Regions from separate parts of the Homo sapiens genome. Here all the other regions are linked to region 6. Evidence: promoter capture Hi-C in 16 types of primary human blood cells and fetal thymus (Javierre and others, 2016). All regions are on one chromosome and are shown on one strand. The core of a region is centred on a gene start or on the middle of the fragment in contact, and the rest is flanking DNA. Distances in the headings are between cores, read along the strand shown.

Region 1 (3,156 bases), core at 427-2,926, 830 kb before region 6:
CTATCCGATGGATCCACTCATGAACATGTCATGTACCAGTCCCCTATGCAAACCAGACTGATAAAGAATTAAGTAATATCTCATCTCATTGTGTATACTATGTATAGTTTGACTACTCTCTATATAAGAATTAGATAGATGAGCGTTAGAGATTAACTTGTGTATTCATCTATTTACTTACTGCTACAATCAAAAGCATTTAAGGATGCTTATAAAATGGTATTCTGTAAAATAATTACCCACCTCAGAGAGTTTTTGCAAATGCATGAGTATCAAGCACTTAACACAGAACACGTTACACAGTGAGCACACAATAAATGTGGGCTGTAAATCTGTAAAATAAATAGAAAAAGAGATCAGGGCAAAACTGTAATAAAAGCAGAATGTTAATACAAGGAATTAAATGCTTTATGATAACATATAAACGTTGCAAACTGGCAGTTATGCCAATCCCTATTGACTCCAGTGGGAATGTCACCAGGTTTAATTAAGATGCCTAAGAAGAGTTCCAGGGCCAGAAAAAAAAAAAAGACACGAGTTTTATTGGGGGTTTATATACAGGGGAGAGAGTCCAGGGACAGTGGGCTGGGCAGGAGAACCATATGGCCTAGTGGTGGCAGGCTGGGCAGAAAAGCAACTGCTTGCAAACTGCTTACATTCGGGTGCATCTGCCATAGGGGGTCATTCTTAGGGTATGTTTAAGCTATTGCTAACAGATGAATTTACCATACACAGGCTCCCAATTTTTCTCTAAGCTTCCTAGTGCATTTTTTAAAAAGGGTGCATTATATAATTCACATGTTCTGTAAGATAAAAGAACACCAAGTTTTTGTTTCTTTTTTATAGTAAGCCTGAGAGGTTCAGTAATTTACATAAGATAATACATACAGTCACTAATTGAAGGAGACTGTGTTTAATTAAACCCAGCTTTTCTGTATCGCCTTATTTCACATATTAGCATAAGTCTTGTGAGGTATGATTTCTGTAGCTTTGGGGAATGTGCTCTGGATCCTGGATATTAACTTGAGAAGCCCTGAATGTCAATTATAGAGAATAATGCAAGGGAGGCTGAGGCAGGAGAATGGCAGCATGAACCCCGGAGGCAGAGCTTGCAGTGAGCCAAGATTGCACCATTGCACTCCAGCCCGGGCCGCAGCCGCGACTCCATCTCAAAAAAAAAAAAAAAAAAAAAAAAAAAAAAAGAGAAAAGAAAAGAAAAAGAAAATAAGGCAAAACGATGTAAACATGGATTCCTAAATAAAGCATAATTATGAAGGCTTAATCCATCTTCCATATTTAGGCCAACTATTTACACCATTTTCTACAACAATCCAGTGTCATCTATTATTTTCTATTGTGCCCATAAACTATTGAAGTGATCTGGAATTTCCAATAATATTACCATACTAAAATAAAACAGCAAATAAAGTTAAAAAAAATTATAATTCTAAATTAGTTTTAGAGACCAAACACTTCTTCCTCACTCCCACTGATACTTCCCTGTCATCAATATCATGTAAAAATATTCCCTATAACTCAGTATAACTGGTCAGTTTGAAAGAAGAAACTGGTGCAAACTGATCATCTTCAATCTTTAGTTTGCCTCAGAAATACCTGGAGGGTTTGTGAAAATAGATTTGCTGGGCCCTACCCCCAGTTTCTGATTCAGTAGGTCTTGGATGGGTCGTGATAACTTGAATTTCTTATAAGTTCTCGGATGATGATGATGATGATAATGCTAGAACCACATTTTGTAAATCACTGCCTAGACTTGGATGTATCTTATCCCTTTGGGAACTAGCTGCCTGTAGGAAACTTGGGTTCATTTTCTCCAAACTGGGAGGAGGGAGCTGTGATTTTCCAGTATTGCCAGTGTCTAGGTGACTAATTTTGCCTAATTTTGGAGTTCAGTAATGAGTCCACTTGCTTATAAATAAAAGCCCAACATTCCAATATCAGCTTTATGTATGATAAATGTGATACATGATTCCTATCTGATTTATTTTTCATTTCACAACCAGTTTAGAACTCCAGGGGAAAATACAGAAGTATCATTTATTATGCCATCTCTATCCTGACATTATGTATGCCTCTAAAGCTGAAATCCAGAAATAGTATTACTATTCACCAAACACAGATATATAAGCAAAATACAATTTTTGAATATGCATTTTAGTGATGTTCCTCCACCGCCCAAAAAGAAGCGATGAGTCTCAAATACCATGTCAAAGTAAATGCCTGTGCAATTATAAAAATGCAAACTTAATGAGATGGCAAAAAAGATGAAGGAACATTTATTTCTAGGTATTAATGAATGCAAATTTTTGCCGGTGATTCACAATTGTTTGAGGTATATTTGAAATTAATGATAAAGTTTTGATAATTAATAATTATCAAATAATGATAAAGTTTTGATAAAGATTTGAAAATTAATGATAAAATAAGTGCTAAGGTCAATTTAAATCTACTTTAAATGAGGCTGTGAATGAGAAATATTATTTTAAAAAGAAATGTGACTGACCTCAGATAATACTTGCATCCAAATTAGTAAGGTGATAAATTTGCTCCCTGTTCCTGACATCTATCTAGGAAGCTTTGCATATAATAACCAATGAATATAGTTCACTTTCAGCTCTTTTGATCTCAAAGATTCGATAAAGAAATTTCTCTTAAAATACAGTTTTATTACAAGAGATGTTGCGGCAAAGGAAACCAAAATTGCATATCTTGCCATTAAGCCCAGATACCACATGAAAACTACACATTGCGCATTTCCAGTTTCACTGGGAATTTTATTGTGCTTAAACAAAAAATTTAAAAGTTGTGTAAAACGTCATAGATACTCCAACAATTTGGCAACAAGGGTTGAAAAAAACTTCATGTTTTACTATTTTATCAGACCTGTAACAAATATAAAAGAGCTGTTTTTCTAACCTTGGTAAGATATCTCCATAAAAGTCCTGGAATTAGCGTGATGCCCTGAAAGGTGAAGTACTTGCTTCCCCATGTTTTGAAAAGCAGCAGAGCTGTTGATCAGATCATTAGCAGCTCACTAAAAATGCTGAGTCAAAAAAGCACAAATAAAGGCTCTGGGCTCCTTTTTGTACAACTAGTGAGTTAAATAATTCTATATTAGTGAGAAATAGTCCATATCTA
Region 2 (3,095 bases), core at 304-2,803, 950 kb before region 6:
ATAGTTACTCATACAAATTCTGGCAGGCCTGGCCACCAAGTCACCAGACACACTGAGGCATGTCTTAGCTACCTCAGTGAAGACAGCTCTCACTGAGGAGCCCTTCCGTTAATAAAAAGGATGGATTCTGAAGAGATTGGTGCTGTTAAAAATTAGAAAGGAGACACTACTGCAGTCATTATTCTCTCTGAATGCCCGTGTGACAATGGGGTGTTCTCTTCCTCTCTCACCTGCAGGCCTTGTAACCTGAACTCCTTCGTCTCATTTCCAAAGGCTGCCTCTTCTCCTGAGTGGCTTCACTTGGGATTTAAAACCTGCATGAAGTCAAGGCTCAGACCTGGCTTCCTTGGCTCCCACTCAGATCATATGGCCAAGTGGGAGTGATCAAGACTGTGGGCTCCTCACCTGAGGCCTGTTTCTGTTGCATCCCAGCCATCTCCTTGTTGCAGCTGCCCATTACCCAATACCAAGAAGAGAGGACTTCTCCCAGTGACACTCACCCAGTGTCACCTTTGTCCACAAATATCTAGTCTTGTGGAACATGTGGATTAAAATACCAATGAATTCTTGTCTGTTTGGGTTCATGTTTTTCTATTAGGACAAGGAATATATAACCAGAGACTAAAACTAAGTGCTGTAAAATTAGTGGTAACATTTTGTTTAATCCCGAGAGACACTTTGTGAGTAAAAACGTTTGTTAGGTGAAGAAACTGAGAATGAGCCAAATTTGTTAATAAGTTAGCTTGCTAAGAAGTAACACAGTTAATAAGGGTTATAGGCTGATTAAAATTCCTATCTGGCTGCCTCCTCCATATGTGCTCAGAGTCTTTGGACAAGTGTGGATGCTGAGTTAAGGGAGTGAGGATCTCTATTCCCAGTGAAGCATCCTTGTGAGAGCATACACGCATCCTCAGCCAAGACAGAATCAGTGGCTCTAGGGTTAAATGGCCTTAAGTGAGGGAAACAATGGATGTGGTGTTACTTAGGTTTGTCCCTCATTGCATTGATAGAAGCTGTTAAGCACGTTCAGTTACAGATTGATGTACAGTAATTCCGACAAAAATGCTCAACAGCATCGACTGTGGACAGTAGTCCAAGATGGTGTTCAACTGTCTCTACATAACTGTCAGCAAGAGACTCAGAAAAATAATGTGGGCCCTGGTGTCCCTCTACACACTGCTGATTAAGCGATACCTGAGACTGGGAAGAAAAAAGAGGTTTAATTGAACTTACAGTTCCACATGGCTGGGGAGGCCTCAGAATCACGGCGGTTGGCAAAAGGCACTACTTACATGACGGTGGCAAGAGAAAATGAGGGAGAAGCAAAAGCAGAAACCCTTGATAAACCCATCAGATCTCATGAGACTTATTCGCTATCATGAGAATAGCATGGGAAAGAACTGCCCCCATGATTCAATTACCTCCCCCTGGGTCCCTCCCACAACACAGGGTAATTCTGGGAGATACAATTCAAGTCGAGATTTGGGTGGGGACACAGCCAAACCGTATCACCTGGGAATGGTGATGTCAGGAAAATGTGCTGCCACTGCCAGTGGGAGGCCATGCCAACAAAGGCCACCATCATTGTGACCCAGTGTTGAGACTTGCACTGGAATCTATTTCCAACAATAGTTATTTCCACCAAGAACCATTTCTTCTCTAGAGGTTACATGGAGGCCACCCACTGGCACAACTCTGGAAGAAAGTCCAAGGCCACTCTTGGGAACCCAGATAACATGTAGCCTGGGGAGACCTGGCTCCCTTCACTATTCCCAGGCTGGGTCACATTTGCCAGGATAGAGTTTGTTGATCTTTGAGGAAACTCTTCACTGAGGATGAATAACAAATTCCCCCATGAAAACCTGGCAGGATTAGAGGCAATGAAACTTGATGTTTGGGGAGCCTTCTGCAGAGAATTACAGTTATGACTGGGTTCCTTGGCTGGGAAGCGCTTGGAGAGGGAGGGTTACATGTTATCATTTACCATTTGCTTTGGGACATCTGGTCAGCAGCTGTTGACAGAAGACTCTCTGAAACTTTGAAGGTCATCACCATCACTGAGCAATGATTTTTTTTTTTTCTCTAAAGCTGATCTTATTCTTCTGGCATTTCCACTTTTCTCACTCCTATTTTTGAGGTTTAACCTAATTTCCTCCTGAAATTTCTGGATGTTTCTCTGAGGCTCTCGCCTTGCTCTTTATTTCCAAACACTTTTTTGGGAGTTCTATTTACATGACTTTGCTTAAACGTTTCCAGACTCCTCTCAATCAACTGTGTCTGCCCATCAGCACAGGCCATTCTTTCATCATTTCATTCCTGTTGGGTCTTGTCTTGCAGTCCCCTAAATGTTCCCTTCCTGCCCCTACCACCAAAACATGTCACTCTTCACTCTCACACAAAAACACCCTTAGCAATGTTTACATATAATAAGCTACCTTTTTCCAGTGCTTGAGAAATTCTCAAGGAAAAACTTTGTCACTTGTGGAGGCTTCTTTAAACTCTATCATTCTGCTGATTTTCCAGGTAATTACTGCTAACTGCAATGCCTGTGGGCTAAGAGCAGCCTTGGATTACCTTGTCTTTACCTTCTCCAAGCAAGCCAAGAACACTCCCATGGCACTAGTCAGAGTTTCTGAGGGTGGGAGGTCACTGCTAATTCTTCCCTCACTGAAAATGTCCCACAAAGTGTTGTTTGTCCCACAGGCTTGGTGTGAAGACTAAATGACATAATGATATAATAAATACAGTGCTTTACTCAACCCAACACAACTTCTGGCCATCATCCTTCCATTCGCATTATATGTCTTTGATGCAAAGGATTTTGGAATTCCTTTCAAGTCATCATTTTCATTCTCACATACTTCTCTTGTGATCAAGTGGCCCCACACAGCTGATTCTTAGGAAATTTGTGAACTTGGAGTCTTTGCAAAGGCTTTACCTTATGTGTATAGATTATTTTTTTCTAATGAATTGTGTTTCTTTACTGGTATGAATAGTATTAAAGTTGCTGAAGTTTTCTTTTCCTAGTTCCTTTTTCCTTTTCTTACACAGAGAATTTGCTTGAAATACATAATAAATTCTCAATATGGGGCACA
Region 3 (2,953 bases), core at 335-2,834, 780 kb before region 6:
TTATTTCTTCATGTTGACTCATTCTTTTCTTTGGGGGTCAACTCCCTCATCCCATTCATCCTTCCCTCTCTGAAAGCGATCCAGGAAAACTGCATGCTCCTCTTGGAATTCCACAAATAGAACACAGCAAAACATTAATGAAGAGAGAAAACAGTTTTCATTTATTTTGCTTTCAGAAATACACTTGGAATGGTCTGTGCCAGAGTTGTACTATATCAAAGAAACCATAATCCAAAAAACAAACCCTTTTTAAATGATAACCAACTGTATTTTGTATTTTCATTGAATTACTTTATTTCTGTAAAAAACAGAATTTCCATTTTTTCAATCAAAGAGCTGAGTTTCTAAAGCTTCCTGTGGTCTATTTACATTTCCTACAGTAACCTTCTTAAGCAAGAGACCAAGGAAAATATGAAACTTACTTTTTTGTTTCATTTTCCCTTTTTAAAGGAGCTTCTGTATTTTCCTGACCTTGTTAAGGCCTAAGCAACAACAACAATTTTCAAATAAAAATTAGCAACAGATTAGCAGATGCCTCTTTATTACAAGAATTATTGTCAGTTTTCAGTTACATCATCACCTCTGGCTATATGCTATGCATTGGATACTTATGTTACTTTGCCTTCTTTTTTCCTCAAGAGCAACTAATCAAGAAAAGTAAGATAGTAAGATGAATCTAAATGTCTATGAACTGAAGAGTGGGATCCTTTAAGAGTAGTCTGACAGATATCATTTAGAAGGAACGTATTGTTAACTATTGAAACAAGATGGTGAAGGTAGGAAATCAAGACCTTAGAAGGGTTGCATTCATTCACTTATTTAAACAATATTTTTTGAAGATTTTTATTTAATCATCAGTGTAGTAGGTGCTGGTAGAGGGAGAAAAAAAAAGAGTTGTCAATCATACTGCAGGACCATGAGTTTCTCTCAAGGGTTGGGCTACTGCAAAATAAATAACTTTAAAGATAAGAAACCTGGAACCTCATCAAATCATAGCTTTCAGAATGTTCTTGACTTTCCCGCATCCTCTGGGGAGCAATGGAGCAGAATAACTCTTTAAAATACAGAGATTTTAAATAGGTCTGTGGATGTCATTCAGCCTAAAATTCCCACTGGCTTCCTCCATCTGTTATGGTATCTTCAGTTGCTTCATTCAACTAGACACAAAATGATCCTTTCAACCTCATTGTTGAAGGTTTCAGCTGACATTGTTTGAAGAGAATACTTCCTCCTTCTTCTCTGGAAGACACCCTAATTGGACTCTCTGGGCTCCATCCATCACTCCTGCCCAGGCTAGATGGAATCACTTACCTGGATGGTAAATAGGAATAGGAAAAGTAAGCAGAACCCTGGTCTTTTTTCTCTTACTTGAATGCAAACTGCCTGTAGGGAGCATAAGTTTTCGGTTGATGAGAAAGCCTAAATTTGATGCTTAATAGGGAGAAGCTTACTTGTCAGCAGTTATAAGCCATGGCCTTCGATCTAGCTTTCCATAGTAAAAAAAGCAAAATATTGGTTTCTACAGGCCAACTTTTTTATTATGTCTCAAATGGTTCAGACCTTGGATAGGAAAAAGTGCTGTTATTATTGGTCCTCCTTGCCTCATGATCCCAATATCTAGTGCCATTAATTTTGAGAGAAAGAGACAGGGAATGAAATTTGCAGATGGAAACAAAACAAAACTATGCTTAGAGGTATTTGATGAAGCCCCAGGAAGCTTCCAATCATGGTAGATTGTAATGAATGTTAAAATCATACAAATAAAATATTTGGTTACATGAAGCATGTTTTGAGCTTTGGGCTTTAATAGAGGTCATGTACATCTTTGACCTTGCCTGCTTCCTTTAATTCTTTTGAAGTTGCACTTTAGGACAGCTTCTGTGCCCCAGCTGTCCAGGCATGAGTGCAGGGGTCAGCAAACCACGACCCATGGCCTATTATGGCCTGCTGCGTGTTTTAGTGAAAAATTAAAGTTTTACTGAAACACAGCTGTTAAAACATAAACTGAGGCACAATAAAAATTTAAAGAGTTTATTTGAGCAAATGGTGATTTATGAATTGGGCAGCTTCAAACCAGAAATGGTCTAGGGGCTCCATTGAAGAAGACTGAGTGACAGGTTTTCATAGAATGAATGTTGAAATCACACAAAGGAAATATTTCATTACAGTTATAAAGTTGCCTTACCTGGTCTGTCCCACTAGAAAGTCCCTAGTTGTAGAATTATAAGTTTGTTGGCTGCTTCTGATTGATTGAGCTTAAGTTCTGTTTTTCCTTAATATAGGCACTACAAGAAAAACAGCTCAAATTACATTTCACTTCTGTTTGCAAATCAAGCAAAGCTAAGGTCACTTATGAGGCTTCACTGGGTTTGTCCCCACAGCGATTCTTCAGGCCTAGACTCCATTTTAATTCACTTTAACACAGCTAAGATTCACTATGTATGTTGTCTAAGACTATTTTCACGCTACAGTGGCAGAGTGGAGTGGTTGCAATAGAGACCGTATGGTCCACAAGCGTAAAATACTTAACATCTGGCACTTTACAGAAAAGTTTACCAATCCACACATTAATGAGTTGAATGGCCTAATGCCCTTTGCTGTATTTCAGCCAGATCTATAAGCCATTAGAAGATTTTCACCTTGGAATTTGTAGTATTGACTTTCATCCTAAGCTGAGGCAGGAATGATCCAGAAATTGGGTGACTTGTGCCACTTTGATCCACATGTGCTAATTACACTGTGAATCTTAGAGATTTGTATTGCAGTTTTTTACCCACAGAAAACTAGAGGACTTTATATGAAACAAATAACAAGAAATGATGGCCACTACTATACACACCAGAGATCTAACCTGCACTAAAAAGGTAGACGGAAAGCTGATTGAAATCCTCATTAAAACAAAGGCCCAAAAACCATTAAAGAAAGTCAGTACATGTATGTGATACCTTCACTT
Region 4 (3,262 bases), core at 375-2,874, 990 kb before region 6:
CATTTCTAAGCATTTATGATGACAGCCATAGCTGGCAAGGCTGTCTTTTCCAAAAGGGGAGCTCCCTCCATGATGGCTTAGGGAAGAATTCCAGACTTCACCCTGTCCCTTACCAGAAAACAAGAACCTCTTAGTTTGTGTTTACGAGAAGATTGTTAGTTTCACTCCAGCTGGAGGTGAAAAGAATGTGGAGTGGAGTCTGCAGAATTTGCTGAGGGTGTGCAGGAGTTGTGTGTGTGTGTGTGTGTGTGTTTGCATGGGGGCGGGATGCAAGGCAAGAGACCTATTGGAATAACGGCCTTGGAGCTGAGGGCTGAGGTTCACCTCTCGCACTCGTACACTGTGTATGTTGTGCACAAGGTGTTGGAAGAACTGCCAGAAATAATTCCCTCTTGAGACGGAGCAGGGCAGTTCCTACTGGCTTGGCCGGAGGAGGCTGTCCCTTCATCTGTCCAGGAGGAGCTGCTGTTGACAGATTGCTGGGGGCCTTTCAGCTCAGACCTCCATCTCGGGAGTGTGGAGAAAAATGAGGGAGGGGCACACTGCCTCCGTGGGTGGGACACACCTGCTGCTGCTGCTTGGAGCCTTTGTCGCCACCCAGGACCATCATGCTAAGATGGGGAGGGGGTGACATTGGTGTAATCTCAGGGACTGACTGAGTCAGGCCACAATGGCAGCCTTTCTTGCAGCCACATATATATGCCAAGCGAGGACTCAATGGGCCATACCATAACCCAGGAATCTGGCCAATTCCTGATGCTTTTATCCCAATAGCAATATGGCTGAACAACCCAACTGTAGACAATGGAGTTGTGGAGGAGGATAATAGGGCTTATCTTGATACACCTGTTCATAGCTTCCATTCCTAACTTTTGAGAAAGTGGACGAAGGAAGAAGTCATGGAAAGAGTAAGTCAAAGCGAAGACTTTTCCACTCCCTAGGAAAAACTATTTTGACTCCCTGGACATGGTTCTAATATGGGATTCTGGGGCAAAAGGTGTGGATTTGGTGTTCTACATTCAACTCTCCCTGTTGTTTTGCAGCACTTGTAGGGCTGAGGGGCCCACCTGTATTCCCTACTCCTCCACCTCCCAGCCCACTGGGTCTCTGCTCAGTCTTGCTGGGCCAAACTGAACCTATAAAGCAAGCAAACTTCCTTGTTGTCATTATTAGTGAAGATATATTTTACTGAACTTGAAAGTAGTGAGAGTATCATTTGAGGGGGAGAGACAATGGAAATTTATTTTAAAAACAACAACAGCATAATAATAACGATAACACCCCTCAAGAGTGGGACTCTCACTTCTCATTTCCATGCTACTGTAGCTCTGGTTTGGCCAGCCTCCTTGGCTTGGCAAGCGTGATCCACTTCATCTCCCACTTTTCCTGTTGGCTGAGGTCCCATTCTCCTCTTGGCTCCTGTAGCTCAATTCCTGGCTGGCTACACTAATCCTACATAGTATTTTACGCAAATTTATATGAACCCCATTACAAAGCTTAGCAAGGAGGCCCTGTTTCTTTTCCTTGATAGAATTAATCATTTATAACTTGGCTGTAAGAAGCCAGTCCAACTTGTGGGTCCTTAGATTTTGCTCATAAGAAACATTCCTGGCTCCACCCAGGAAGAAAAAGATTTCTTATTCCTCTGCCCTGCCCCAGCCCCCTGAGGTGCTGTCTACTTTGGAAATTCCCACCAGTCTTATTTAGAACCACACTCACAAGTTGCCTGGGAATTTCTCCCAGAAAGCTTCATTTTCCCCCCTGCCCCTGGGGCTTCATTTCCCACAGACCCCTGGGAGGTTTAGACTGTTGTCTGTATCAACAACATGATAAACTTATTGTGGCTGCCAAGGCTTCTCCAAAGAGTTGTGGGAATCATTTGTGAATTACTTCTTTGATTTTTCTTAAATGAAATTCTGTTTCCACTCATGTTAAATGACTATTCCCAGAGTACAGTTTCTTTAGTGGCATTGTGACATTAAGGAGGAAGACATACCTCCCATGGTGACAAATCAAAGAAGGCACCAAGCTATGAATTTTCAATTAGGATAATTGAAGGTCAGCCAAACAGCACCTCTATCTGCCCCTGATGCCTCATTAATAAGGCAGTCATTTCCCGCTGCAACTTTTATTTTAACCACTAAAGAGAAAATCTAAGGACTAGGGTATATGTTTCTGCATATATGCCTCCATACATAGATTATTCTAAGAAAACAGAAGAGAATTTCTTTGCACTTGTTTCCTTTAAGCCAAAACTCATGTTAGATTGTAGCATCTAGCACGTCAAACTTTTCAACAAGTCACAAGGCATGGAAAAGAGCATCTGTGGGTCAGGTCACTTTTCTCAGGCAGTGTGGGTGGTGGTGTTTTGGTTTTTTTTTTCCTCTTGTCTGGTGTTAGTGAGGGCTTAGTTGACTATGCTTGTAGCTCCAGCTTTGGGAATATAATTTTTGCCTTCCATCTAAACACTCCACTTTCCATTTTTGTAGGAAGGAAGGAAGCCTTCTCAAGTGACAGCAAGCATAATTGGGATAAACACCGATAAGCATATCTTCCCAGATTAATAATCAGAATTCCAATTTCCCATTTAAAAAAAAATCTAAATTTCAGGGATGTGGTCAGATTTGCCCAAGTCATCAGCAATTTAGCAGCAGAGATATGAATATGGTCTAATTCTTCAGATTGCTAATCTGTGTTTAACTTCATTTACTATGATTCTATATCCAAAATGCTTCTAACAGCACTCTGGGTGCTAGAGTTACATATTAGAATTTTTGCTTAGGAGAATTGCATATCATATTGCACTCAGTATATTCATAATATTCACTAAATGGGAAGGGGGTACGTGATGGTTAATACTGAGTGTTAACTTGATTGGATTGAAGGATACAATGTATTGATACTGGGTGTGTCTGTGAGGGTGTTACCGAAGGAGATTAACATTTGAGTCAGTGGGTTGGGAAAGGCAGGCCTACCCTTAATCTGGGTGGGCACAATCTAATCAGCTGCCAGCATGGCTAGAATAAAAGCAAGCAGAAAAACGTGTAAAGAGAGACTGGCCTAGCCTCCCAGCCTACATCTTTCTCCTGTGCTGGATGCTTCCTGCCCTCGAACACTGGACTCTAGGTTCTTTGGTTTTGGAACTTGGACTGGCTCTCCTTGCTCCTCAGCCTGCAAACAGCCTATTGTGGGACCTTATGATCACGTAAGTTAATAAACTCCCCTTTATATATGCATCTATTCCATTAGTCCTGTCCCTCTA
Region 5 (3,205 bases), core at 703-3,202, 880 kb before region 6:
TTGCAAGAACATCAGTTAATCACATAAACCACAATGCAGGTGGAAAAACTCTAGCTGGAAAATGCTATTTAGTAATGACTGAGGGTCAGAAAGAATCACAAACATCCCAGAATCTGTGTCCTTAGCTTGCCTCAGATTATGAAGCGGGTGGGGAGGTAATGGGACTAGACAGACTTTGTGCTACCAGCTTTAAGCAGCAGCTTCCTTGTGTTGTTTCTACGTCATAGCCCTCCTAGCTCTCACCCTCCCTGTTCCCAGTTCACTATATAATCTGCAGGATTATGTTCTACAAACACTATTTTGAAAGTTTCCTCTTTTTCTTTATTCAAATTCTTCCTCGAGACTTCCCTCTTCCCAAGACTAGCTATCAGAGTTTGGGTAAAGTAAAGCAAAACAAAGCTAAACAAAAAACAGCCATCCAGAGCCTACTGAAAATCTATCAATCTAGGAAAGGGGTCAAGACTCCTACTCCTTCCTTAATTGGCTTTGTGGCTAAATGCTGGGCAGAAATCTCTAAACAGCAATTAGGAATGCATACTGTATTTCCTCTCCCAAGAAACCTTTGAAGAGGAGTGAGGAAGAACTATCCAAGAAAGGAGGCTCAGAACTCTTATGAAAATGAGAGAGATATGAGTGGGGAGTGTTTGGGAGGTGGTAAACATAGCAAATGCAAACCAGGAAGAGAAGGCAGCAGGGCTTGGATGAGCTTCATGGGCTCCAGCTTAAGTAGATGAAGTTTTGAGTGTCAGTGGGACATGCATGTGGAGATGCCTACAGCCCTTGGGCCATAGGATATGTTTAATGTGCTCAAGTCAAAATTCAAAAGTCTCTAGGTTTATCACATAAAAACACATTTGAGGAAAACACAATAATATTCCATATATTTATTCACCAAAATGTTGCCTGACTCCTTTGAAGTCATTTTAACTAGCGTGTGTCTGCAATGAGCTCTGTTCTACTTCTGTAAGGATCCCACAGAGTGACTCCAATGACCTCATTCAAACTAATAAGCTTCACTTTCTTCCTCCCTTAAATCCACCTCCCTTTGCCTCTTAAACATCATGGAAAGGGAATGTGACATTTTAGAAGGTGTCATGCCGACAGCCTCACAAACTGAGGCTCATTTCACCAAAAAGGAGAGCTTGTGCTATAGCCAGTACATTTTCTCGCTCCAGTGTCCTCCACAAAGTAATTAACACAGCCAGGTTGGGACCATAGAATAATTCAGACATTCATGCCAGTAACATACAACTTGCATTGTAAGTATTATTTCTTCTTTAAGTCTCTGTCCATGAGGTTTTTGAGGGCAAGGTCATTATCTTACTCATCTTTGAGGAATATAACCGTATTGACTATGTAAAGGACAGTTAGAACATAATAGGTTCTCATTAATTGTTTAGTTGATAGATAAAAATTATTTGGTTCCTGAAAACAAACGTATAGCAATGGGAAACTTCAGAGTAGAAATGTTTGATTAGGCGCAGGTAACTTTTTTTCCCCTGAAAAAGAAAGTATATAATAGGGAACTCCAGTCTCTGCCTCCGGTACTTGAACTCCTGGAGTTCTTTTTGTACAAAGCTGTCACCATTATTTAGCTACTCAGTTAACACCCTCACAAAGCAAGTAAACACTCATGGTTCTCCTTTACCCACATTTTTAATCAGATAGATCCTCAGGCATTAGATGCAGGTTTTTGTCCTGACAGCCTTTGGAACAAGCCAAATCAAAAGCATGTATGTAATATTGTAGCAAAAGTTTCTGTATCATATTAATTCTTTTTCTGTCTTTTATGTTGTAACTATTTCTCTATTGCTACATTTTTGTGACAAACAGTATTTTCTTCAACTTCATTGCTCTTTATGTGGTTTTTGTTTTAGCGTTCTGTTTAGAAAGATTGTGAATGCTGTAAGTGTATATACCTGTTCACTTAGGACTCTTCTATTGTTTTTGTTATTTCACATCTTCCATTTAATTTCTTTGGACCTCAATTTGTTGAGTGGTATATGGGAAAATAAAATTTTATATGTTTTTCCCAAACAATTATCCAGTTGTTCTAAAACTACATATTAAAGAATCCAATCTTTATCATGTACTAAATTTCTTTCTATATTTGATTCTACTTCTGAAAATTGTATTGCATTATAATGAGTTTCTATAAAAGCAGGCAAATTCTCTTATAATTTTTTGGCATATCTAGAAAGTACAACAATGCCTAATACTCAGTAATTGAATCAATGGATAAATTTTCCACTTCATTTAATCAATCTCTCGGGCTTGTTAATCCCACTGTATAAATATCTCTTGAAGAATTCCTTTTCCTTTTATTAGTACATTGCCTGCCCTCATACAGGCCCTAATAATTATGGACTTTTAAAGTACTTTTTACATACAAATGGAATAAGGTTCAAAAATGTAAATCTGATCAAGTACCTTCCCCAGTCGAAATTTGTAAATGACTACTCATTTCATCTTCCATACCTGAGGACTACCAAAGCCCTCAGTTCAACCAAATGAAACTATTATTCTTTTTCAAATATTTCATATTCAAATATGCCTTGCTAGTTTTTTGTTTATTTGTTTCTTAATCCTTGCCTTTGTAAAACTCGAACAGCTTGGTAATAAATGTGTGGACAAAGTGGATTAGTATATAAAGAGGGGATTCATGGTTATAGAAAGATAAGTGAGTTTGGGCCAGGATGAACAAAAACATGAAGGTATGGAATAACTCTCATGCTCTCCCAGAACCACAGGCTGTTGAGAATGACTAGTGTGCAGGTGAAAGTGAAGACATAAACATCCAGGGTGTGAAAGGCCTTGTGTGTCATGCTAAGAACTTTGTTTTTCCTACAGGAGAGTAGAGCCAATGAAGTGTTTTAAATGGGGAAGAAGCTTGGTTACAATTTTTCTGCAGGATAGATTGACAGAAAGTGCATTCAAAGCCAGGAACCTGCTTAACAATAGATTCTCCAATAGTATAGGTGACATATGATAAGGCCTTGAGCCAGGATAATAGTATTGAGAATCAGAAGAAGGGATGCATATGATGTTATAAAAGAAATTCTGCAAGATTTTGTGACTGATTAGGCATAAAGGTGAATAAAAGGAAGAACTAGTGATTGATCCCCACCCTCAAATCTTCTATCAGCCGCCATTTCTGGCTTGACTAATTGGATAGATGGTAATGTTCTTTACTAAAATAGGAAAT
Region 6 (3,000 bases), core at 255-2,754:
CTTGGCCAGCCAAGGGCAGGCATCTGGCTGGCTGGCACCAGTCCAGGAGATCAGGACTGGGACACTGCACATTCATATTCTCTCTCTCTCTCTCTCTCTCTCTCTCTCACACACACACACACACACACACACACACACACACAGAGACATATCTGAAGAAGACTCTTCAGATATGTTTCAATTGTCAGGAGTTTGCGAGGTGCTCAAGTGCTTGACCTTTAAGAACCGGTTCTCAGAGACCCCCATTTCCTAAAGACCTTCTCATCTCACATTGGTTTGGGTTCCTCCCAGGAAACCGCCTCCTCTCTGGGCCTCCTGCTTCAGTTTGGGGGAAGCAGAACATTGCCCAGGAAGTAGGGAAGGGTGAGGAAGGGTGTGAGGCCCACTTTTCCCATGGGAGGATCCCATCAGCTTGATGCATATCTATACACTCCTCCCTGAGGCAGTTCCTCCAGAGGTTAGCAGCCCGCCCTGTTCCTGGAGAAGTCTTATCCTCACCTAACTACAAAAAGATTTAATAAAGAAACACACCCTTTCCTATTGTTACTTGGGGTTTGAAGGCATTACATCTTTTTTTCTTTTTTGCTACCTTGAGGTCAGCTGGCAACAGCCTCCTCTCAAGTCTCAGTCCAGGCGAGCGATGAGAGCCACATTCTAATGGAATCCAATGAGAGCATTACTTGAGCTGATTATGCAACGTCTCTTTGTAAACATTGAAAAAAGTTTGGAGAAGAGATGGGATGAGTTTAGTTGTTTGGTTCCAGGGGATTTTAGAGACATAGCTTGCAGCTACAGATTGGTAAATGTGAAATCTGGATGCTTATTGGTAATAAGAGAATTCCCAAGCCCAGGTGCACTGTTTAAAGTGCTATAGATTCATATTTGGTTTATAATGTATATCTGTTTGCTGTTTGGGTTAAGGAGGAAAGAAGAAAGAAGGATGAAGAGGCTAAGCATAAATGCTATTTACTTTTTTCTAAGCTATGACAGGAGATATACATTAACTGGGTATTCAACTGAATTTAAGAGTAATGCATTTAAAATTTTTTCAACCTCTTTTAAAATTTGATATACTGTAATAAACTGCCACTGGGGATGGGAAGATGGAAGCCTGGTGCTCATGGGCTAGGCATTTGTGTAGGTGTAGATCTTATAATGCTAAACATGGAAATACTTCAGATTAGAGGCAGGCCTTCCCATTTGCTAAGGTGCATTTACATGACAGCAAGGCCTAAGCAAACATTTAGCTTCTATTGGCACTTGTTCTATTTCTAAACCTTAGAAAAAAGGTGTGTGTGTGGGCTGGGGGGACGGGGGGGGGAGGGAGGTGGTAGGGGGTGCTCTTGCTGTGTCTCATTTGCAGTCATGCATCCTCTGCATTATTATGATGGAGATTACTCAGTTATGTTAGGAACTAGATTATGATGTCAGAAAATATCCTTTCCAAAACAGGCAAAAAGTCAGGGTCCTGGGTATATATTGAGGAGAATTTCTACGGAAAGTAATAAACAGGGCAGCTTGGAAGAGGTACCTGCTTTCTAATAATTGCCTTTAGTGGGAACAGAAGTCTCCTTTCAAGAAGCTTTTAATTCATTTTAAGATTTAATTTTATGTTTTCTGAAGAACAACAAAAAATATTTCTGGAAAAGACTGCTGAGAAGATTTCCCTCTTTCAGCCAGAAGAGCAGAGAGAAGATTGTAAATCAAGGAAAAGGTGAAGTAATAAATTAGGAGGGAACTTTGGTATTCCGAGTATATAAAGACTATTTATTTTTCCTGTGTCTATATTTTCTCTTTTTGTGGAGGAGAGGAAATTCTAAAAATATTTGATAGATGTTTTGCCATTAACACCAGAAAAGTGTGTGGGGAAAAAGAAAGGAGGGAAGGAGTGGGGGGTTAATTTTGTTTAATTAGTAGAAAAAGCAACATAAATCAAAGCAGTCTATTGATGCCAGTCCTTAATTTATAATGTTCTGAAAGTAAAGTGAATTTATTTACAACATAAGTGATTTGATAATTTCAATCTGATTTTTGTTTTAACCTTCTATTGGGAGAAGGGTTGACTTTTTAAAGCCTGGATAGTTTGAAACTTGGCTAGGTACCTTGGACTTTTTATTGTGGAAGCAAATATTATCATTTCAATGTTAAACAACTTGCAAGTATTAAATGGCTCATTTGTGATTGACTTTTTTTTTTTTTTTTTTTTTTTTTTTACAGATTTCCCCCTTCAGATCTAACGATTACATTAGGGCTCCTGCATCTTTTTGGAAGGATTCTTTTTATAAATCAGAAAGTGTTCGAGGTTCAAAGGTTGACATTTCTGAGTGCTGATACTTTGTCCTTTCATACTATCCAAACAAGTCTAACATTTAGAAATCCTTACACATTCAAGGGAAGTTGTGGAAATTCCCAGAGAGAGAGTGTGTGTGTGTGCGTGTGTGTGTTTTGGTTTTGTTTTGCTTTTTTTCTTTGTTAGTGAGAAGAAGCCGAGTCTTTTAAGGTACGGGGTTTACAGTAATGAACTGAGGAAGGCAGGAGCTTCTAAGAAAATATGCCCCCCCACCCAACCTAAGCAGTAAACTTTAACTGCTAGCTAGCTGCAGTGAACCAGTGGGAGCCCCGATGAGCGAGGGTCTCGGTGACAGCGTGCTATTTCTCCCACCCTGGGTAAAATATGTGGAGCATCACCCGGAAAGTCGGGCTTGATAAAGGCCACATTCCTTGAATCATCTCAAGAATCTAAATCACACTAGCCTTCTAGAAACTAATGAACCCTACCAGCAGGATTGCCTAGAAGACAAATATCCCTTGAATGGTTCCCAGTCCACTCGCGCTCTTTTCAAAAAGTTAGAGGAGCCCTGGGGAGGGTATCCACTCCCGCTGCAATCCTTTCCTAGATGATACTACCCAGTAATTCCGAGCAGTCTTTCTTCCCCGCCCATTAGCTTTGGAAAGAACCTCGGCTTTCCCGTCGCTTCTCCCAGGCAGAGCAGCACATAA
Region 7 (3,095 bases), core at 318-2,817, 860 kb before region 6:
TGAAATCAATTAGGTTGTAAACAGAAAAACAATAAAAATAAATGAAACAAAGTCTGGTTCCTCAAAATGATTTAAAAAATAAATCTTTAGCAAGACTCACAAGGGAAAAAAAAAAGAAAACACAAATTGTCAATATCACTGAAGACACAGACAATATCAATATAGACCTTGTCTACATCAAAAGAATAATAAAGTAAATATGATGAATAAAAAAAGTTCATATTTATATGTGGGTTTTGATCTTGTCATCATGTTGTTAGCTGATTATTATGCAGACTTGATTTGTAGTTACTTTATAGTGTCAATGGTCTATGTACTAAAGTGTGTTTTTGTGAGGCCAGTAACAGTCATTCCTTTCATATTTAGCACTCCCTTAAGGACTTCTTCTAAGGCATGTCTGGTGGTAATAAATTCCCTTACATATGCTTGTCTGAAAAAAAAATCTTATTTCTTCTTCACTTATGAAGCTTAGCTTGCTTGGATATGAAATTCTTGGTTGGAATTTCTTTTCATTAAGAATTCTTCATATAGGCCCCTAATCTCTTCTGGCTTGCAGGGTTTCTGCTGAAAGGTCTGCTGTTACCTGTTGACCTTCCCTTTGTAGGTGAGCTGCCCCTTCTCTCTAGCTGTCTTTAACATGTTTTACTTCATTTTGACCTTGGAGAACCTGACGACTATGTGTCCTGGGGATGATTGTCTTGTATAGTATCTCACAAGGTTCTTTGCATTTCCTGAATTTGAATATTAGCCTCTCAAGCAAGGTTCAATAAATTTTCACGGACCATGTCCTCAAATATTTTTTCCAAGTTGTTTTCTTTCTTTCTCTCTCTCTCTTTCAGGAATGCAAATGAGTTATAGAATTTGTCTCTTTTCGTAATCCTATATTTCCCAAAGGTTTTGTTCATTCATTTTTATTCTTTTTCTTTATGTTTGTCTGTCTGAGTTATTTTGGAGAACCTGTCTGTGAGCTTTGAGATTCTTTCTTCAGTTTGGTTTATTCTGCTGTTAATACTTGTGATTGTATTGTAAGTTCTTGAAGTGAGATTTTCAGCTCTGTTAAATTAGTTTGGTTCTTTCTTATAACGGCCATTTCATCTTTCCTCTCCTGTATCATTTTATTGTTTTCCTTAGATTGGGTTTCAACTTTCTCCTGAATCTCAATGATCTTCATTCCTATCTATATTCCGAATTCTGTGCCTGTCATTTCAGTCACTTCAGCAACTTCAGCCTGATTAAGAACCACTGCTGGTGAACTAGTGTGGCCATTTGGAGGTAGGAAGACAATCCAGCTTTTTAAGTTGCCACAATTCTTGTGCTGGCTCTTTCTCATTTGTGTGAGCTGATGTTTGTTCAATCTTAGCAGTTGCTGTCCTTTGGGTGGGGTTTTTTGCTTTTATCTTCTTTGATGCCCTTGGGTATTTGATTGTGGTATAAGGTGGGTTCAGTCAGCTGGCTTTGCTTCTAGAAGATTTTAGGGGACCATGGCTCAGCTTGGCAGTCCTGGAATGTGTGCTTTGGCTCTGAAGGTCTGGGACCAAGCCCCTTGCTTTGTTCTCTGGCCCCTTGAGGTTAGGAATCTGTAGTGTTGGAGGGGCCGAGGTGTTCTCAGTCTGTAGGTCACAACACTCTGATGGGGGGGTGTCAGGCAAAGTACTTCATCAGGGCAGTGGCAGTGGGATACATGCTTGCTTGCACATGCCAGCAGCCACAGCAGTGTGATGAAGTGCATGCACATTGGCTTGAGATGGCCACTGGTGGGAGTGGGGTGGTGACATTTCTCTGTAAGCTCCCGCCAGTGGTGGTGACTGTGCAGCAGGGGTGAGGCACTGGGAAGGGCAGATTTGCTGGCGTCCATGCACATGTTTGCACCAGAGGTGGCAGAGGTGTAACAGGGGCTCATTTTCATTCAGTTCAAAACATTTTCTAATTTTCCTGTGCTGTTTTTTGTTTTTTTTTTTTCCTTTTTTAACCATGGGTACTTACTAGAGAAGTGCTTAAAATTCAAAATGCTGAGGTTATTCTGGGTATTGTTCTGTTGTTTATGTCTAATCTAATTCCACAGCGGTGCAAAAACAAACTATTTCTGATTTCAATCCTTTTAACTCCATGCGCATTTTTTTTCTTTTTTTTTTTTTCTTTTTTTTTTTTGAGACGGAGTCTTACTCTGTCACCCAGGCTGGAGTGCAGTGTCGCAATCTCAGCTCACTGGAACCTCTACCTCCCAGGTTTAAGCGATCCTCCTGCCTCAGCCTCTCGAGTAGCTAGGATTATAGCTAGGATTACAAGCATGTACCACCATGTCCGGCTGATTTTTCTGTTGTATTTTTAGTAGAGAAGGGGTTTCACCATGTTGGCCAGGCTGATCTCAAACTCCTGCCCACCTCGGCCTCTGGGATTACAGGTGTGAGCCACCATGCCCAGCCTCATATGCACTTTAAAAGGATGTATATTTGGCAGTTGTTTCATGCAATGTTTTAGAAATATCAATTGAGTAAATATGGTTAATAATGTTATTCAATGCTTCTACATTTTTCTGATTTTCTGCCTGCTTGTTCTACTGGTTCCTAAGAGGAGAATGTTTAAGTCTCCAACTTAACTATGGATAATTATAAATGTGTCTGTTTCCCTTTTCAGTTCCGTCAATTTTTGCTTCTATATGAAAGCTTTATAATTGAGTGTATGCATAGTTAACCCTATTGTGTCTTCTGAATTGAAATATTTATCATGGCAAAATGTAATATTCTGATAACATTCCTGCTAATATTCCTTGTTCTGAACAGTAACTTTTCTGATGTTAATGAGATCATTCCAGCTTTCTTATAGTGTTTCATATTATGCATTTTTCCACTTCCCTTTTAAGTTGCTTTCATCTTTATATCTAAAGTAAATTTCTTATTTCCAACATAAGGGTCTTGCTTTTTTATTCAGTCTTACAATGCCTGACCTTGGAATCTACTTGTCTTCGTCTGTTCTTTGTTTCTTTTCCCCTCTTTTCCTTTTGTCTTTTGGATTTATTGATGAATTATTACTATTTCATTTTATGTCCATTCTTGGGTTATTATCTATTTATCTTTGTTTTAATTTTTGTTGATTGC

What was found. Contacts are between HindIII fragments. The CHiCAGO score rates a contact against its expected background, and 5 or more counts as called.
Region 1: a contact is called between a fragment that was not itself captured here and the fragment with the promoter of PTHLH in region 6, in 1 of 17 cell types (M2 macrophages). The highest score is 5.1, in M2 macrophages.
Region 2: a fragment that was not itself captured here is called in contact with the fragment with the promoter of PTHLH in region 6 in 1 of 17 cell types (M2 macrophages); the score reaches 5.3 in M2 macrophages.
Region 3: a fragment that was not itself captured here is called in contact with the fragment with the promoter of PTHLH in region 6 in 1 of 17 cell types (M2 macrophages); the score reaches 5.3 in M2 macrophages.
Region 4: a fragment that was not itself captured here is called in contact with the fragment with the promoter of PTHLH in region 6 in 2 of 17 cell types (M0 macrophages and endothelial precursors); the score reaches 8.5 in M0 macrophages.
Region 5: a fragment that was not itself captured here is called in contact with the fragment with the promoter of PTHLH in region 6 in 3 of 17 cell types (M0 macrophages, M2 macrophages and M1 macrophages); the score reaches 9.3 in M0 macrophages.
Region 7: a fragment that was not itself captured here is called in contact with the fragment with the promoter of PTHLH in region 6 in 2 of 17 cell types (M2 macrophages and M0 macrophages); the score reaches 7.7 in M2 macrophages.

The regions. Positions count from the first base shown.
Region 1 is chr12:28,804,891-28,808,046 of GRCh38, reverse strand. No RefSeq gene overlaps it. Among named protein-coding and RNA genes, the nearest start is that of FAR2, 340 kb to the left of the region's middle. The HindIII fragment of the contact is 1,838 bases long and covers 758-2,595 here.
Region 2 is chr12:28,925,068-28,928,162 of GRCh38, reverse strand. No RefSeq gene overlaps it. Among named protein-coding and RNA genes, the nearest start is that of FAR2, 220 kb to the left of the region's middle. The HindIII fragment of the contact is 8,630 bases long and covers 1-3,095 here.
Region 3 is chr12:28,748,603-28,751,555 of GRCh38, reverse strand. All of the region lies in intron 2 of LOC105369711 (a long non-coding RNA gene), which reads left to right. Among named protein-coding and RNA genes, the nearest start is that of FAR2, 400 kb to the left of the region's middle. The HindIII fragment of the contact is 271 bases long and covers 1,449-1,719 here.
Region 4 is chr12:28,964,700-28,967,961 of GRCh38, reverse strand. No RefSeq gene overlaps it. Among named protein-coding and RNA genes, the nearest start is that of FAR2, 180 kb to the left of the region's middle. The HindIII fragment of the contact is 251 bases long and covers 1,499-1,749 here.
Region 5 is chr12:28,852,858-28,856,062 of GRCh38, reverse strand. No RefSeq gene overlaps it. Among named protein-coding and RNA genes, the nearest start is that of FAR2, 290 kb to the left of the region's middle. The HindIII fragment of the contact is 1,878 bases long and covers 1,014-2,891 here.
Region 6 is chr12:27,971,237-27,974,236 of GRCh38, reverse strand. PTHLH (parathyroid hormone like hormone) reads left to right here and starts at 1,504. Exons shown (of 6, transcript NM_198965.2): 1 at 1,504-1,714; 2 at 2,218-2,310. The HindIII fragment of the contact is 3,977 bases long and covers 1-1,584 here.
Region 7 is chr12:28,831,883-28,834,977 of GRCh38, reverse strand. No RefSeq gene overlaps it. Among named protein-coding and RNA genes, the nearest start is that of FAR2, 320 kb to the left of the region's middle. The HindIII fragment of the contact is 2,196 bases long and covers 470-2,665 here.